Regions from separate parts of the Homo sapiens genome. Here region 1 is linked to region 2. The links are contacts of gene promoters, found by promoter capture Hi-C in human tissues and cell types (Jung and others, 2019). All regions are on one chromosome and are shown on one strand. The core of a region is centred on a gene start or on the middle of the fragment in contact, and the rest is flanking DNA. Distances in the headings are between cores, read along the strand shown.

Evidence for each region. Contacts are between HindIII fragments. The study calls those that stand out against the background at their distance.
Region 1: a fragment that was not itself captured here is called in contact with the fragment with the promoter of ERV3-1 in region 2 in 1 of the 25 tissues and cell types used here (dorsolateral prefrontal cortex).

Annotation. Positions count from the first base shown.
Region 1 is chr7:63,908,708-63,911,895 of GRCh38, forward strand. The region is part of intron 5 of LINC02848 (long intergenic non-protein coding RNA 2848); the gene reads left to right. It also overlaps the pseudogene NMD3P1. Among named protein-coding and RNA genes, the nearest start is that of LINC02848, 10 kb to the left of the region's middle. The HindIII fragment of the contact is 3,533 bases long and covers 1-3,188 here.
Region 2 is chr7:65,004,839-65,007,936 of GRCh38, forward strand. It overlaps ERV3-1 (endogenous retrovirus group 3 member 1, envelope), which reads right to left and starts at 1,849. Exons shown (of 2, transcript NM_001007253.4): 1 at 1,703-1,849. ERV3-1-ZNF117 (ERV3-1-ZNF117 readthrough) reads right to left here and starts at 1,908. Exons shown (of 4, transcript NM_001348050.2): 1 at 1,703-1,908. RefSeq lists an enhancer at 1,780-1,839 and a silencer at 1,940-2,109. The HindIII fragment of the contact is 15,538 bases long and covers 1-3,098 here.

The sequences.
Region 1 (3,188 bases), core at 500-2,999, 1.1 Mb before region 2:
ATAAAATTTCACATGTAAAATAGCCTAAATATCAATAATAATTACATTCTCCATAATCGTTTATTATCTAAAACTTCAAAGCCATCCATCTTTTTCAGTGCTTTGAGTGAGTAATCAAAACAATCATGTTTATTCAGGTTTAAAACTTAATTTCTCCTCTTGAAATCTGGAGGCATAGATGGAAGAGACACTTAAGGTCATTTTTTCCAACTTCTTAAGCCCACATATGTGGAAACAGTCTACAACATCTCATTATATCATCATTGACGCACCTTCTTCACCAGTGGCATCGTGGGAAATATGAAAGTCTTCAGGCATCTCAGCCAGACTAATTCCAGGTGCTCCTTCATCATCATCACTTTCCACAGGGATGGTTGACTCTCTGTAAATGTTGACATTTTTTCTAATTGCCTCATCTTCTTCAAGATCTTCAAGAAAATCTTGGTATTGCCTTTCATCATCTGTATCCATGTTCTCTCTCCTGCAAGCTCTTTCAGTTTCCAGTTTCTACATCACTGATGTTTGGTCCAGTCTTAGTTCTTCTTGATTAATACCACATCTGGAACTCTATCTGAGTTCATTTTGTTGCCATGCTCATCATTTAAATTGCAGCTGGCCAAATCAAACCCTAACACCAGCTCTCCAGGATTTAGAAGATGTCCCAAATGAGTATGACAAAAATACTGTTTATCTGTATTCATTTCAGATGTCTTCTGTACCCAGACTTCCCTGAGGGTATGCTTTTTTGATATCATTCCAGCATCTGCACCGTGTTTTATATTTCGGACTATGCTGCATTTCATCACAATAAATTCCTCTAGCTGTTTGGGGTGACATAAACTACTGAAAGAGTGACTCCAGAAAGTGCTGCCATCAATATCTGCAACTTGTAGGGTGTTTGGATCAATGAGGTGAATGGCACTGGTTATTCGAATACACACACAAATCTGGTTCATATTTCCCAGGCTTTGTGTCAGTTTTGGAGACAGACAGACAACATAATCCTGGCATATTGGAACAATTTCCACAGAAAAAGTGCTTTTGTAATTGTATGTATTACTATGGACATCCTGAGAGATCAGTCTTTGGGATGCGTTGTATCTACAGGGAACTGTATACTGAATAAATTCGACCATCTTCTGAGCATGTGGTTTTGAGGAATAATAAAAATCCAGACCATCATGAATCTCTTTGATACGAAGTGTATTCTGATGCCTTCCATATTTCAGAATTAACTGTTCCAGATAGTAGAAAGCTTTTTTGTGCAAAGTCTTTTGCCTCACTTGAATCACAGCCCTCCAGAAACCCTTAGCTTCTACTCTATGGCAATCTCCACATATTTGGGACTGAACAGCATAATCCACCACAAACACTTGTTGAAGGACAGCACCATTCATCACCTCTTTCTGGAGTCAGTTTAACTTTAAATCTCTTAGAATGGGGCTCAGTCCAAACAAAGCCTGCATTCACAAGCCGTTCCTTACTCAGAGGGGCTTTGAACACAAAGCAAGAAGTTCCCTGGATTCTAAAGCACACCGTATCCAAGTTCCTGGTGGCTGAAAATACCTTTGACATTGTTTGTAGAACAAAAGTGAGACTTGTTTTGGAATATCTTGGCTGATGCCCACTTTACTTTGCAAACAGGCCACACAAATATTGGCAGGATTGGGACTTATTGCAATACCACACTCACAGCACAGGATGAGTCCAGGGCTGCGGTCAGTCGATTCTGTCATATACTCCATTGTTCTGTATGCTTCACACCTCCAGACCAGCCCTGGATTTGCTGAAAACCTGCAACAAAATAGACCCCGGCTGTCCTGTCAGCTGCCACCATGGCCATCTTCACCACAGCGAAGATCTCACGAAGTGGTTGTTTTTTATGGTTTCTATTTATCTATTAAAATAATTTTTTAAATATAGGTGGGGTCTTGCTCTATTGGCCAGGTTGGTCTTAAACTCTTGGTCCCAAGCAATTCTCCAGCCTCAGCCTCCCAAATTGCAGTTAGCACAGGTGTAAGCCAACATGATCAGCCTATTTATTATAATTCTCATTTTGTTTCTGTGTCATTTCATAACATTTTTAGTTATCTATTGGTGTTCTTTTGGATTTTATTGAAATCTCTTGATGATTATTTTTAATTCTATGTTGGCCAATTCTGAGATCTCCATTTCTTTGCAGATTTTTACTAGAGCTTTATTAGTTTCTTTGGGTGATGTTCATGATTTTCAGATTCTTTAAGATCTGTGCAGGCTTATGTCTGTGTCCCTGAATATGAAGGAGTAAACACATCTTCCACTAATCATAGGAGAGTTTTGAAAGATAAATACTTTCTCCTATTGGGTCCCTGGGCTGATGAGATTTTAATTGACATTGCAGTTGAGTTTGTTGGAGCCAGGTCACATAATTGCTACTTGGTCTTTAGTGGGTTTCGTGGTTGGCAGACCCGTTATTAACACATAAGACAGTTATAAATTCTGTCTGTTCCCTGGAAGAGTCAACTTTCTTTTTTTTTTTGAGACGGAGTCTCGCTCTTTTGCCCAGGCTGGAGTGCAATGGCACTATCTCGGCTCACTGCAAGCTCCGCCTCCAGGTTCACGCCATTCTCCTGCCTCAGCCTCCTGAGTAGCTAGGACTACAGGCGCCCGCCACCGCGCCCGGCTAATTTTTTGTATTTTTAGTAGAGAAGGGGTTTCACCGTGTTAGCCAAGATGGTCTTGATCTCCTGACCTCGTGATCCGCCCGCCTCGGCCTCCCAAAGTGCTGGGATTACAGGCGTGAGCCACCGCGCCCGGCCAAGAGTCAACCTTCTTTAGAATATCGATTATCAGGACTAGTGCTGAGATAAGAAATTGCAGTTGTTTCTGCATATGGGGTGCTGGTAGAATAGATGTAGACAGGTGTGGCTCCCACTAGGTCTCTGGGAGTGCGCTAATCCAGTTATTAGACAGCTTACTGGATGGGCAGTACTGACCCCTAATCAAAGCTGAGAGCCATGGGAACTAATTTATAGGGCTGCTTCAGGATACACGAGTGAGGCTAAATTCTTCAGTTCTGTCTCTGGGTCCATGGTGTATTTCCCTCCAGGTTTCTGGGTGGGTAGGACTGCTCCCAGACACTGGCTGACTGGGATTAGAACTGGGTTACAGGGCTGCTTTAAGATTCACAGTGAGACTGATGTCAGCAG
Region 2 (3,098 bases), core at 599-3,098:
GCTGCACCATCTCACTGGGGCCAGGTTTGATTTTTTTTTTTTTTTTTTTTTTGTCTTTTGGGATACTATTTTCTCTTTCATAATTCTTGGAGAATCCAGGTGGCAGTAATTATTTGTTTTTCCCTCATTACCACCATCTGATTGGCTGACCAGCAATGTGTCTTCGAGAAATGGAACCCGGGTTGCTTGAAGACAATCTTAACTTCTCTAAGGGTTTGCTTTTCAAAGGAAGAGTACCCCAGGAGACTCCTCTCAGCCTCAGGGCATCCACCTGCTCCCTTGAGAGGCTACACTCCAACTTCAGGCTGTCCTGTCTCCCATTCCCAGATATGCGAAGTTTCATTCCAGGCCAGGAGCTGAAATTTACTAGACATTGTAGCATACACAGCCACAGTGGATATCTTGATTTATCCCCAGACAGTACTGAAACCCAGAACCAGGGAAAAAACTGAAGGGTGGCTGAGGACACATTACCTTATAAAGTTTCCAAAGGGAAACCCTGACCCAAAAATATTCTGATAAGGTTTCTGTGGCTAGAGGCAATAAAAGGAAAGGAGGCACAGAACATTTTTTACAATACAGTGTCAGGGGATTATTCTTTGCTTTCTTCTCTTGGGAAATCTTTACAAACAGAAAACAAATCTTTTTTAAAATGCCAGCCAATGCTTTGTCAAAAAATGATTAATTAAAATATGGTACCTAAAATGTACACTAAAGTGTACATTAAAGGACAAATAGTTGATAATGTGAATTAGGGAGGGGAAATTGGCATTTGGGAATGTCAGAAGGAACTGGAAATTTAGTATTTTACTGCAAGCCAGAGTTAGGCTGGAGGAATGGGAAATGGGGAGAAGTCTTGAGACCCTGCTTGAGACAGAAGTGAAAAATGCAGAGGAAAATCAGTGCCCTGTGGAGTGTGAAAATAATTAAGTGGCAGGCAATTAGACTGAGGTGGCTCCAGTCCTAGGGTTGCTACTTGCAAAAAAATCTAACTCGAATGATTTTTTTCTAAAGTATTACATTGGGGGAAAATAAAATTCAGGCTTAACCAACTATAAACTGCCAATTAACCTCTCATTACATGACCAGGGAATTTCCACCTTGATCGTACAAATTAAGAAACTACATAACTTTACCTAACCAATTATTGAATTTGCTTTCCTTTATCATGCACTTTATAAAAGTGTTTTCTTCAAGCCCCTTCCATAAACCACAAACTACAAAACATAGCTTGGTGCTCTACAATTCTTGAATTACTCTTTAATTAAATTCTTTAATATTTCTGCGGAGACTTCCACAAATTTTTAATAGAAAAAAAGGGGGACTGGGAACCCCGCAGACCAAAGCTCTTCCCATTCATGAACTCTGCATCCTGAGTCAGTATTCTCCCCTGACGACCGTCCAGTGGTCCCTGCACAATCGGGGAGAGCTGCGGCAGTGGGGGCAGAGCTGCCCACAGAGGACTCCAGAACAAGGCACAGTCACTGCGCAGGGAGGAGACAGGATGCCCGGGGTCCGAGCTGTCAGCCCGGCCGCCATCCTATGGCTGAAGGGGACTGAGGGCCGAGCTGCGCCAAGGAGAACTCGGGGCCGCGGATTTTGGAGCCAGCTGCGGGGAGGCCAGAGTCCCGCCACAGCCACTTCCCACCAGTTCCAACCAGCCCCGCCCCCTCTCTCGGGATGTCGGACCCGGCACTCTCACCATTTCTAGGCTTCCAGTGGGTCCTGGCGTCTTAGCTGTGGATCTCCCAATACCTGCAGGTAACGAGGCCACAGAAGCTGGGCCTCTAGGAGCAGAAGACACAGAGCAGTGAAGACTACACCAGAAGCTCCGGCTGCCGCCAGAGACAAAGGCCCCACCAAACCCGGAAGCCGTCCTGTCTGCTCCAGCTGAGTGCCTGATTGGACGGGTCCCAGCCCAGCGTCCCTGATTGGATAATGTTTAGGGCCCCACCCTCTCAGGCCTTGATTGACAGAAGACGTGCTCAGATGCTGGGCTGAATGTAGAGTGAACCCTAAGCCTTTTCAGGCAGAGCTTCCTCCCTGAGCTGACCCAGGCCCTCCCCAGACGGCATTTGCCTTGTAAGGCAACCGTCTGAAATAAAATGTGAGCCATGTGTGAATTCTAAATTTTCTAGTAGTTAAGAAGAAAGAAGAAACAGGTGAAATTCATTCTAACCATTTAATAACCCAATATATCCAAAATATTATTTTAGTATAGGAGCAATATGTAATTATTAATGTAGTGTATATATTCTTGGAACTAAATCTTTAAATCTAACCCTGTATTTTACCTTTCTAGCACATCGCAGTTCAGACCAGCCATATTCCAGCTATCCTGTAGCCACACATGGCCAATAGCCACCACATTGAAGTGCAGCTCTGATTTCATACTTCCTCTCTCTCTCTCCTCAAACCTCCTGTGCTTCCTTCCCTCCCTCCCTTCTGCTAAGCTGATGCTCACTTCTCCAACGTTACTAGAAGCCCTCAGAGTGAATGTTCTTATCTTCCCACCATCCACCGACTGTGTCTCTGTTCCTTCCACTGTCACTGTGTAATAATTGCCCTTCTGCGGCTGGGCATGGTGGCTCATGCCTGTAATCCCAGCACTTTGGGAGGCTGAGGTGGGAGGACTGCTTGAAGCCAGGAGCTTGAGACCAGCCTGGGCAACATAGTGAGACTCCATCTCTACAAAAAAGTTTAAAAATTAGCCATGGGCTGGGTACGGTGGCTCACGCCTGTAATCTCAGCACTTTGGGAGGCTGAGGTGGGCGGATCACCTGAGGTCAGGAGTTCAAGACCAGCCTGGCCAACATGGTGAAACCCTGTCTCTATAAAAATACAAAAATTAGCTGGGCCTGGTGGCGTGCACCTGTAATTCCAGCTACTTGGGAGGCTGAGGCAGGAGGGTCACTTGAACCCAGGAGGTGGAGGTTGCAGTGAGCCAAGAACGCACCATTGCACTCCAGCCTGGGTGACAGAGCGAGACTGTGTCTCAAAAATAAAAATAAAAGTTAGCAAGGCGTGTTGGTGTGCACCTGTGGTCCCAGCTACTCAGGAGGCTGAGCTGGGAGGATAACTTGAGCTCACGAGTTCAA